Linked DNA regions of Homo sapiens: regions 1, 3 and 4 are each linked to region 2. The links are contacts of gene promoters, found by promoter capture Hi-C in human tissues and cell types (Jung and others, 2019). All regions are on one chromosome and are shown on one strand. Each heading gives the region's core, a stretch centred on a gene start or on the middle of the fragment in contact. The rest is flanking DNA. Distances are from core to core; before and after follow the strand shown.

What was found. Contacts are between HindIII fragments. The study calls those that stand out against the background at their distance.
Region 1: a fragment that was not itself captured here is called in contact with the fragment with the promoter of KCTD4 in region 2 in 1 of the 25 tissues and cell types used here (hippocampus).
Region 3: a contact is called between a fragment that was not itself captured here and the fragment with the promoter of KCTD4 in region 2, in 4 of the 25 tissues and cell types used here (IMR-90 fibroblasts, aorta, bladder and 1 more).
Region 4: a contact is called between a fragment that was not itself captured here and the fragment with the promoter of KCTD4 in region 2, in 5 of the 25 tissues and cell types used here (dorsolateral prefrontal cortex, hippocampus, mesendoderm cells and 2 more).

The regions. Positions count from the first base shown.
Region 1 is chr13:45,344,999-45,348,138 of GRCh38, forward strand. The region is part of intron 3 of TPT1-AS1 (TPT1 antisense RNA 1); the gene reads left to right. Among named protein-coding and RNA genes, the nearest start is that of TPT1-AS1, 5.2 kb to the left of the region's middle. The HindIII fragment of the contact is 8,275 bases long and covers 1-3,140 here.
Region 2 is chr13:45,199,642-45,202,572 of GRCh38, forward strand. It overlaps KCTD4 (potassium channel tetramerization domain containing 4), which reads right to left and starts at 1,404. Exons shown (of 2, transcript NM_198404.3): 1 at 1,183-1,404. All of the region lies in intron 4 of GTF2F2 (general transcription factor IIF subunit 2), which reads left to right. The HindIII fragment of the contact is 9,631 bases long and covers 1-2,931 here.
Region 3 is chr13:45,006,110-45,009,237 of GRCh38, forward strand. It overlaps GPALPP1 (GPALPP motifs containing 1), which reads left to right. Exons shown (of 8, transcript NM_018559.5): 3 at 93-194; 4 at 2,686-2,770. Among named protein-coding and RNA genes, the nearest start is that of GPALPP1, 18 kb to the left of the region's middle. The HindIII fragment of the contact is 5,478 bases long and covers 1-3,128 here.
Region 4 is chr13:45,035,496-45,038,362 of GRCh38, forward strand. It overlaps a transcript of GPALPP1 not described here. Among named protein-coding and RNA genes, the nearest start is that of GPALPP1, 47 kb to the left of the region's middle. The HindIII fragment of the contact is 4,747 bases long and covers 1-2,867 here.

The sequences.
Region 1 (3,140 bases), core at 93-2,592, 150 kb after region 2:
TGTAGTTCCGGCTATTCGGGTGGTTGAGGCCTGAGAATTGCTTGAACCTGGGAGGTGGAGGTTGCAGCGAGTCGAGATTGCACCACTGCACTCCAGCTTGGGTGACAGAGCGAGACTCTGTCTCAAAAAAAAAAAAAAGAAATTGCAGAAAATTTTTCTCCCCTCCCTTTTTCACTACTGTCCTTGACTAGTTAAAAAAAAAAAAAAAGCCGGCTGGGCGTGGTGGCTCATGCCTGTAATCCTAGCACTTTGGGAGGCCGAGGCAGGTGGATCACCTGAGGTCAGGAGTTCAAGACCAGCCTGGCCAACATGGTGAGACCCTGTCTCTATTAAAAATACAAATATTACCTGGACGTGATGGCAGGCGCCTGTAATCCCAGCGACTCGGGAGGCTGAGGCAGGAGAATCACTTGAACCCGGGAGGTGGAGGTTGCAGTGAGCCTAGATAGTGCCATTGTACTCCAGCCTAGGCAGGCCAAGGTGGGAGGCTCACTTGAGGCAGAGTTTGAGACCACTCTGGGCAACATAGCGAGACCCCATCTCTGAAAAAAAAAATTGTTGAAAACACCTCAGTTTTCTCTCCCTCTGAAAAAGAAGCTACTGTCTATAGAAACAAAAGGCGGCCCGGCGTGGTGGCTCACGCCTGTAATCCCAGCACTTTAGGAGGCCGAGGTGGGTGGATCACGAGGTCAGAAGATCAAGACCATCCTGGCCAACATGGTGAAACCCCGCCTCTACTAAAAAATACAAAAAATTAGCCGGGCGTGGTGGCGGGCGCCTGTAGTCCCAGCTATTTGGGAGGCTGAGGCAGGAAAATGGCGTGAACCCGGGAAGCAGAGCTTGCAGTGAGCTGAGATCGCGCCACTGCACTCCAGCCTGGGCGACAGAGCAAGACTCCCGTCTCAAAAAAAAAAAACAAAAGGCATAGACTTCGCTCAAATTGTCACCCTCTCCACAGGCTATCCTTGACCATCATGTTTAAAATTACAATCCCTGCCTCTTGGAAATCCCTGTGTTTTTGTTTTTTTTCCTTTTGAGACGGGATCTCATTCTGTTGCCCAGGCTGTGAAGCGGCACAATCACAGCTCACTGCAGCCTCCACCTCCCTCCTCAGCCTCCCGAGTAGCTGGGACTACAGACACGTGCCACCATGCCTGGCTAATTTTTCTATTTTTAGTAAAGTCAGGGTTTCACCATGTTGGCCATGCTGGTCTTGAACTCCTGGCCTCAAGTGATCCACCCACCTTGGCCTTTGAAAGTGCTGAGATTACAGGCATGAGCCACCACGCCTGGTTTTTCTTTCTTTTTTTCTTTTTTTAATTTTGAGACGGAGTCTTGCACTGTCGCCCAGGCTGGAGTGCAGTGAGGCAATCTCGGCTCACTGCAAGCTCCGCCTCCCAGATTCACGCCATTCTTCTGCCTCAGGCTCCCGAGTAGCTGGGACTACAGGCACCCGCCACCACGCCCTGCTAATTTTTTTGTGTTTTTAGTAGAAACGTGGTTTCACCATGTTAGCCAGGATGGTCTCGATCTCCTGACCTCGTGATCCACCCGCCTCGGCCTCCCAAAGTGCTGGGATTACAGGCGTGAGCCACCGTGCCCGGCCCCATTTATCCCTAATATTTATTTGTGGGACTAATTAACCAACATGTTATTTCTTTTCTTTTTTTTTTTTTTTTTTTTTGAGATGGAGTTTCGCTCATTACCCAGGCTGGAGTGCAATTGCACAATCTTGGCTCACCCAAACCGCCACCTCCTGGGTTCAAGCGATTCTCCTGCCTCAGCCTCCTGAGTAGCTGGGATTAGAGGCATGTGCCACCACACCCGGCTAATTTTGTATTTTTAGTGGAGACGGGGTTTCTCCATGTTGGTCAGGTTGGTCTTGAGCTCCCGACCTCAGGTGATCTGCCCACCTCGGCCTCCCAAAGTGCTGACATTACAGGTGTGAGCCACCATGCCCAGCCCCAACATGTTATTTTCTTATACTTACTTTATTTTCTGTCTCCCCTCCAGACAATGTAAGTGCCATGGAGGTTGAGAGAGTTTTTTTGCTCACAGTTGTATTCCCGGTGCATTAAACAGTGCCTATGGCTGGGTGCAGTGGCTCATACCTGTAATCACAGCACTTTGGGAGGCCAGGGTGGGCAAATCACTTCAGGTTAGGAGTTTGAGACCAGCCTCTAGGTCAGGAGTAGAGACATGGCAAAACCCTATCTCTACTAAAAATACAAAAAATTAGCTGAGCCTGGTGGCATGGGTCTGTAATCCCAGCTACTCGGGAGGCTGAGGCACAAGAATCCCTTGAACCTGGGAAGTGGAGGTTGCAGTGAACCAAGATCATGCCACTGCACTCCAGCCTGGGTGACACAGTAAGACTCCGTCTCAAAAAAAAACAAAAAAACAAAACAAAACCATAGAGAAGAGCTCTTCCCTGGGAGGAGGAAAAGTGGCCTAAGACATAGTTAAATCATAAAAGCAAGTTGTAGAACATCACTCCTTCATTTAACACCCAGATACACATGACAAAAACCAATAGACTGCTCTACCTATGTGTATATATTTACAAAAGCAAACATGAGAATCTAGAAGGTTATGCATCAAACTGGTAACAGTGGCTAATTCTGGGAGGCAGCTGGGGAAAAGTGAGTGGTCAAAGGGGAACTATAGCATTAATTGTTTCAATTTAATATCCAATAATGTTTCATATTTAATATCCAAAATATTCTTTTTCTCATAGATACCAAACATAATAATGCAAATAAAGTATGGGGAAGTATTTATATCATATGTAAACAATATATAAGGAAAATGCACCAAAGAAATAAGCATATATACCTGAAACAAGCTAAGGGAGGGCCATGCATAAATTGTTGGCCAGGCGCAGTCGCTCACACCTGTAATCCCAGCACTTTGGGAGGCTGAGGCAAAAGGATAGCTTGAGCCCAGGGTTTCAAGACCAGCTTGGGCAATGTAGTAAGACCCCGCCTCTACTTTTAAAAATAAATGAATAAATTGTGTGGCTGGGTTTTCTGATCACTCAAGCAGTATGTGAGTGTGAGTGTGTGTGTGCGCGCATGAGCACGCACAGGAGTGAACTAGCTTGATTTTTGAAAAATGGACCCATAAATTGTTTTGCTAAA
Region 2 (2,931 bases), core at 154-2,653:
ATTTTTATAGTGCTATTTGGCAAAATGCAATTTTACTTTCTCTTTGGGAAGAAGATATTTTAAGCTAATAACCATTATCTACAATCTCAAAATGAAGGGCATAACTTTGAAAACTCTTGTAAAGGTAGTACAGTTAGGAAGTAAATGACTAAAGAGGGTCTCTGTTACCGTATACTAGCGCCTGCCACTGTTCCTTCTGATTTTCTCATCACTTAACATCTGCTTGTGTCTTCAGTGATGAGGTGGTGTGGAGAAGAGAGAAGAGGATCTGAACAGGAGAACAGGATGTGATGGCTCAAGGGAGCAAATGTGGTTTCTTACAGAGTAGGGAGGAGTTATAAACTAGGGATGGAGAACTCTATCATATCACACATTTTTTTCATATTTACCATTTCTATAACTGAGGTACATCTTAATATCGTTAGCTTGTCAAAGTTTAGCAGCAGTATTTTGTCTTGGTGGCACGTAAAATAATGGTTGCTATTACAAATGATAGCATCTTATAGTTGATGAAATATTTGAGCAGCTCTGTGAGCTATTCCCTCCGTATCACAAGAAAGTAAAATTAACAGACAGGGAGGAGGGAAAGAATTTTGCAGGGAGATGAGAGAGAGAGGGAGAGACAAAACAATGTGGCTGCTTGATGTTAAAATTAGGCAAATTATTTTATAACTTTTATAAAATTAAATTTTATTTTTTGATACAGGGTCTTGCTCTGTCACCCAGGCTGGAGTGTATTGCAACCTCAACCTCCTGGGCTCAGGTGATCTTCCTGCCTTAGGAAACTCCCGTATAGTTGGGGCCACAGGCATACCCCACCATACCTGGCTAACTTTTTTATCTTTTTGTGGAGACTGGGTCTCACTTTGTTGCCCAGGCTGGGCTCAAGCTATGCTGCTGCCTCAGCCTCCCAAAGTGTTGGGATTACAGATGTGAGCCACCATGCGTGGCAAAATTCCTGAAGATCAAATAGAGATCAGAATATTACTTCACAAGTAAAGAGCAGCTTTTTAATAATACAGGGATAGAAAGTTTGCCTAACTGGTTTGTTAAGATGCTAGTACCTTTTATTAGTAGACCTCAACTCAGAACCACAGGCAAAAAAACTTCTAGGAACATATTTTAAATGAGAAGAAAGGAGACTACTAGGAATATTAAAAATGGTTTGCCTTTTAAATGTACCTGCTTCTTGAAAAGATTATTTCTTCAGTCTTTTCCCAGAGAGTGTCGACACAGGTGTGATGTAATTAAGAGTCAGGAGAGTAAGGAGAGTAACTTCGAGGTCTGGAGGATCAGCCTGAAATGTTGGTCAGTAGTCCTCTGGTCTGGGTTTTTACAGGAGCTGGAAGTTCTCTTAAAGGCCTCCACATTCAGCTGGATCCAGAAGGTCTTGTGGAAATGAATGAGTGTAACTTCCTGATGCCTAAGACTTCCTAACATACTTGATTTCATTACTTACATGCCAATGCTAATAAGCAGTGTTGCTGCTTGCTTATTCCTTTAACTTCTTCAAACTAGGGATGCCCTTAACTTTTTAAAAAAAGTGCCAGTATCATTTCTCCTCAGTTCTTTGACATAGAGTGTATGTCAAGTTCAGATATAGGGCAGGATAATCCAGCATAGAGCACAAATTTAAATATTTTCAAGCCTTGGGCAGCTTCTTAACATTTTGTTATTCTCTTTCTATTCAAAGAAAATTTAATTATATCTAGGTCTTTTGGAAAGTACTAGAGCAAACAAAATAACACTAATGAAATAATAAAACATCCCCAGTTGGAGAGGAAGGCTAGCATTTTTATTTAGTGAAAGAGACCTAGAAGAGATCTCAGACATTCTAGTAATATCATTATTATGGATGCTGAGGCCCAGAGATGTAAAATAACTTCTCCAAAGTAACACTGCTGTTTAGTGACAGAATCTTAACTAGAAGCCTTCAGTTCTTTTTATAGGATGTGCTTTATATACATAACCTTTAAAATTTTCTCTCGAGTTTTTTCTGATTTTAGGTGGTGGGATATACATAAATTACCATCATCAAAGATGTGTGTTCATACTCAATAAGATTCTTTTGGTTGCAAGTAGCAGAAACCAGTCAACAAACCAATCTAGCCAAAAAAGGAGTGCGGGGGAGAATTTAGAAAGAATCCCATACTATTTCCCAGAATCCAAAGAAGAGCAAATGGCCAAGGAAAAGATATGAATTGAGCCATTCCAAAGCCTTTGGTAGGATGAGTTTGTGTGGCTTCTCTGCAGAGTGCTGGCAAGACCATGTCCTTCTAGTAATTGGTGGTGTGAGCCCCTTAGTTGAACATTTCAAGCACAAGAGCGAGCAAGCACAGACACACAGAGGCCATTCCTACCACCTTCAGTACTCTTCCTTCTTACCCCCACCCACCCCAGTCTAAATCCTACCCATTTTTCAAGGTCCAGCACAATCATTGCTTATTCTTCAAAACTCTTCTTGGCCTGGCGTGGTGGCTCACACCTGTAATCCTAGCACTTTGGGAGGCTGAGGTGGGCGGATCACCAGAGGTCAGGAGTTCAAGACCAGCCTGGCCAACATGGCAAAACCCCATCTCCACTAAAAATACAAAAATTAGCCTGGCGCAGTGGCACATACCTGTAATCCCAGCTACCCAGGAGGCAGAGGCAGGAGAATCGCTTGAACCCAGGAGGCGGAGGTTGCGGTGAGCCAAGATCGCGCCACTGCACTCCAGTCTAGGCAACAGAGCGAGACTCCATCTCAAAACAAAACAAAACAAAAAACTCTTCTTGATCTCTAGCTAGACATCTGAGTGGGTGTGTGTGTGTGTGCAAGTACATGTGTGTTTAATCCCAGTACTCTTGTATGTTTCTATTTTATGACCTTTAACATATTCAACTTGACAGAAGAATCCTACAGCACATATGGAATAACCAGTAATTGGTCAG
Region 3 (3,128 bases), core at 162-2,661, 190 kb before region 2:
TAGATTTAATGCTTTTTTAAAAAAAATTAAAATGTGCTTTTGTGAAAAAAATTTTGACATATATGCATAAAGTTATACTACTATGTTTTCAGAAAACAGAGGAAAAATCAGGATGATGACGATGATGATGATGATGGGTTTTTTGGACCAGCCCTTCCTCCTGGATTTAAAAAGCAGGATGATTCTCCTCCAAGGTGATAATGTGTAATATTTTAGGCCAGTCTTTCTTTAAATATTTTAACTAATGAATCTTTAATGAATTAAAGAATTGTCTGAAATTATGTTTTAACTGAAATATTTATATAACATTTTGAAATGGGTCATTCACCAGGAAAAGAAGTTGTTTCCTACAATAAAAATAATTATTTACATGTTTATGACACTTTCATAGTTTACAAAAAACTTCCACATCTGTTATTTGATATTCACAAAAGTGTTTTGTGGTAAACGAGGTGGATCACCCCTCTCCCCACTTTATAAACAGATAAGGTCACACACATAGTAGCAGACCTGGAGCTAGAATCTTGATGTTGTGACTTTTAATTCAGTTGTTTTCTTAATTATTTATCAATAGAAGAAACACATCCCCATGTGCCATGTTAGACAATTGGACTAACTTCTCTGAATCTTAAATTTGTTATCTGTAAGCTAGGATAACAGCATGTACTTTACAGAATTGTGATGATTGAGGTTTCATAGTTACATACCTTGACTTTGTGTGTGGGTGTTTAATTTATATGGAGCCTGGCACAGAGTAAGTATATAGTAAATATTTATTCCTGTCTTCTTCCCAGAATTGTAAAATTTTTAAATGCCAAATATAAGATCGCACATCAAATTGTTTATAATTCATAATACTGTATACCAATATGCAAGAACAAGCAGAAAAGGCTTTTTATTTTATATTCAAAGTTTATAATCACATTTGGCAGCTCCTAACTTCCATTAACTTTAGTTGTTTCAGATATACAGGGATAGGCAATCTACAGTCCCCAAACTAAAAATGATTTTTGCATTTTTGAGAGTAGCTGAAAAAACAAAGACAGATATGCCACAGAGACCCACATGTGGCTCTCAAAGCCTAAGAGTTACTATCTAGCCCTTTATAGAAAGTTTGCTGACCCCTAGGATGTAACATTCCTTTTAAGAAAACATATTACTTAAATGTATACCAATTTTATTCTTAAGAATATTATTTTGGCAATAATAAAATGTATGTGTAAAATAAACAGCTGGCATTATATATTGGAGTTAGAAACCTTTTATAGTATCATAACATGCCATGGTTTTATTCCTTTACTATGTTTTATGATTTTATATACCAGTAATTTTATCACCACCAATCCCCTGAGGCCAGAAAGTTAAGCTATAATTGCATTTGTAGATTGCTAAAAATTGTACTCAGAAAAAACCTATGCTGTACTCATAGCTTATAAATGATACCTAATTTTATCTTTTTAACAGTGCCAAACTTCCCTGTCTTTCATAAGCAAATTGTTCTGCTCAAAGAAGTTTCATGAATCAAGACAAGAGATTATTAAATGGTCAGGATGGGAACCCAGACTTTCTGACTGTCAGTACTGTTATTTCCCCTGCCAGGATGCCTGTCTGTGGGGTTCTGATAGAACATGGTGCAACCTGGAAATTTTAGCTTAGGACTTCAGTGCCATCTGGGTTGGTAACACTGGCACAGTGACAACTATGGAAAAAACATTTGTACAAAAGCAAGGATGAAGAATCTTAAAAGTGTGAAAGAGAGCATTTTTTTATTTTTTATTTTTATCTTTTTAATTTTTTCCTTCATAAAGTAAGGCTGTCTCCTTTTAAGACCCAGTGTTAAGGCAAGTCTCTCTTTTGAAGTGATGACAGTTGCCTCATTATTTGGCAGTAGGGCAGCTGGAAAGAAAATGCACTTTGACATCAAGTAGACCAGGGTTTAAACTCTAGCTCAGCCACTTACTAATTGTGTTAATCTTGGACATGATTTTGCTCATCTTAAAAGTGGAGTGACTTACACTGACCAGGATTGTTTTAAGGAAACAGATGCACTGCTTGAAATATGGTTAGCACGGTACCCTTTTCCCTTTCTGTGGGTCTTAATGAACTAGCTGCATTCTTCTACAGTTCCACATCATTACTGAGGACAATGTATAGATTTTTAATACTGCCATGTTATATAGACCACAGATTGCTGGCATTGTCTGCACATGCTATATATGTCCTTAGAAGAACTCAATTTCTACTTTGGTAGTTCTGACCATAATTATAATGCCCCTAAGGTATCTTTCACGGGATAATGAATCTCAAAACTGAAGGAAAGCCAAGGCACAAAATAAAAAAAGACCATCACAGATTTTAGTACATCAATTTTTTTAAAACATTGCCATTTTTATTTAATATAGTTCTTTTTAGGAAGTGTGCATATGCCAGTGTCACAAAGATTGAGAATTATTGGCTTAGTCTCTAATTATTGACTAACAAGTAGAAAAGTCAAATGTGAAAATTAGGTTTTTAAAAGACGTCTAGCAGAAAGATACTAGGTAATACTAGTAAAAATAAAGTGTTAAATAAAATTCTTATTTTCAACATTTGTCACTATTTGGCTTTATTATTTTTGTGAACTTTTATTCTTATAACTGCTTTTTAAAGTCAGGGAGAATGATAAAAGTACATTTTATTTTTCAGGCCCATAATAGGTCCTGCATTGCCACCTGGTTTCATTAAATCTACACAGAAAAGTGACAAGGGCAGAGATGATCCAGGACAACAGGTATCATCATCCCATTTCAACTCTAAGGTTTGGAAAGTTTTCATTGAAAGAATAAGATGTATTGTAACAAACTCCAAACTTTATGCATGCAGTTACTACAACCACTGGACTCAACTGTAATGTAAGACTCAGTTATATTCAGATTAATTTAAGATTGTAACATAAGTAGATGAAATAAAAAGCTGTTCACAAACCTGAGATTCTGTTAGGAAAATAACAGGATTGACGGGGTGTTACCTATTCATACTTCTTATCTTTGAAGGGGGACTTTAAGGTGTTAGAAGGATGGAACATGAAGAAAAGTTTAAGGAATGATTGTGATTTGGCCTTTAGGAGAGAAGGTTGAAGAGCTTTTTAA
Region 4 (2,867 bases), core at 245-2,744, 160 kb before region 2:
AATATTTAAGAATAGCTGTTTTTTTAAGAAGTTGTTGTAAATTACTTGTTTCCTCCTGGGCCTAATTATTGAGGGTTATTTACATTCTTTTTAAGAACTGAATAGCACCAGATGAATTCAACAATTATTAGTCAAGTCTCTAGAATTCTGGACATAGCAGAATGTTTTTACTTAGGGACTGAAAAATACAGTAGATCAGTCTGTCTCTTAATTTGTAATCCTTAAACTATTTCTATCAGAATCACCTAGGAGTTCATTTAAATGCAGATCTCCAGGCCCAAACCTATTGAATAGGAATCTTTGGGGTTAGAATCAGAGCATCTTCACTTTTAACAATTATCCCAGGCCATTCTTTGTAAATTCAAGTTTAAGAACCACTGCATTTATGGGCAGACAAGGTAGCTCACACCTGTAATCTCAGCACTTTGGAGGGCCAAGGTGGGAGGATTGCTTGAGGCCAGGAGTTCAAGGCTACCCTGGCCAACATGGTGAAACCCTGACTCTAAAAAGAAATTTAAAAAAATAATAACCACCGCACTTACATGTGTTCCTATAAACAATCCCCTCTCCTTTGTTATATGTTCTGTTTTCCTATTATATATTCCTAAATACATAATCACTTTACTTTGCATAGCAACAAACACCAGCACCAGCAATACTTGCCTCTTGAAGAATGGATTGTCACTTCTCTTGAGTGAATGCCTAAAAGCATTCACCCTTCAAACATCTACCAGCCAGTTGCTACAGTGATCAAGATTCTACTGCCATTGATAATTCAGTTTCATTGCACTTTGCCCTCTCTTCAGCACCTTTTAAAATAGATAAGTCCCTAAGAGGAATAGTCAGATTGTAGTTCCTTGTCCCTGGCTGACTTGGGGCCATTTAAGACTGAATGCCTCAGGAATGCAGAACATTGAAAAGGCAGGGAGCACAAAAAGGGAGCACTGGTGGGCTATAGATGATCTGCAAAGGATGGTCTCTACCTTATGACTATTTTCCTTGGGGGAATTAACCAGTTAATGTTACTTTGAGGTCTTAGATAACTGTGCTTTGGCAGCTAAGGTATTAACTTCAGAAGCAACTGAGTTTACTTTTAGATACCAGTTTCTGTATTTGCTGACAAAGAAAAGATAACAGTAGGTAAAAGAATGTTAAAAAGAAACAAAAGGCCAGGCACAATGCCTCACATCTGTAATCCCAGCACTTCAAGAGGCCAAGACAGGAGGATCACTTGAGGGCCAGGAGTTCAAGACCAACCTGGGCAACGTGGCATGACCCTGTCTCTACAAAAAAATAAAAATTAAAAATTATCTGGGCATGGTGGCATGGCATGCATCTGTAGTCCCAGCTACTCAGGAAGCTAAGGCAGGAGGATCACTTGAGCCCAAGAGTTCAAGGCTGCAGTGAGCTATGAACATGCCACTGCACTCCAGCCAGGGAGACAGAGAGACCCCATCTCTAAAAGAGAAAAAAAGAAAGCAATAAAATTCTGCAGAACTAGGTAGGAAAGACAATAAAAGCTACAAGGGTGCATCATTGTTTTGAGATCTAGACAAATTTCGAGAACCTATTCAAGAATATTGAAAAGTATTTCAAAGTTCATTTTCATATCTCTGATTACTTACCGCTGTCCTGCCCTTTAAAGCACTTCCATTTGTTTTCTTTATGATGGGGTAATGTTGGCCAAACAGGCTATATGATAAAGTATTTAGTCCTAGTTTTATCTTCATACAATCAGAGCTCTGAGATGAAAATAAACTTGTTCCTTTTTTATCACTAGGTACAAAACAACAAATGAAGTTGCTTATGTATATAATATGATGATTTTTGTCTTTTTAGGTAATGGCTGAAAGCAACACATTTTGCTAACCTAAGGATAAATAATACTATAATACCTAATTCACACTACACACTTAACAAAAGCAATTTATCATCAGCCTAAGATTGCTAATTTTTATAACAGGTACAGACATAATTAACTTAATATTGACCAGCAAATAAATCTAGAAATTGTGCTTATTCTTTAGTATTCATTTTAACTGAATTTAAATTAGTGTTTTTCCCTAACAGCCTTGTATATTGCTTAATAAAATTGTCATATTTGAAAACAGAGATTCTTAAAGTTTAAAATGCTTGCAGTCAAATGACAGTTTATCAATAAAGATTTAAAACTATCTTTTAACCTGTCAGTTTGTAAGATGCTAATCAATCCATTATACTGTGTTGCCTCTAAGAAAATGACATGAAAAGATGGTTTCAGAATATTTCTTTCTACCAGCAAATCATAAAGAGCTTTTTAAAATCACATTTATAGTCTTTCCAGTGAGCTTATGTGAACACACAGTGGGGCTGCATCTTTATTGAGTATTTACCAGAACTGAGTAATATCTAGGCTTAGGTGAATGGAAGGTGATAGTTGAACAAAAATGATGACCAATTTAGTCAGCAAAATCGATGTCTTTCCAACTTTGATGTGAATCAGAATCCCCTGGGAGCTTATTACAAACATAGATGCCCTAACCTTCCAGAGGATTTTGTTTTGTTTTGTTTTTTTGGAGACAGAGTCTCATTCTGTTGCCCAGACTGGAGTGCAGTGGTACACATCTTGGCTCACTGCAACTTCTGCCTCCCAGGCTCAAGCGATTCTCCTGCCTCAGCCTCCTGAGTAGCTGGGACTACAGGCATGCACCACCACACCAGGCTATTGTCTGTGAGTAAAGACGGGGTTTTCACCATGTTTGCCAGGCTAGTCTCAAACTCCTGGTCTTAAGTGATCTGCCCACCTCAGCCTCCCAAAGTGCTGGAATTACAGGTGTGAGCCACCATGCCCAGCCAATCAGAAGTTTTGATTCCATCTATAGGTTTGG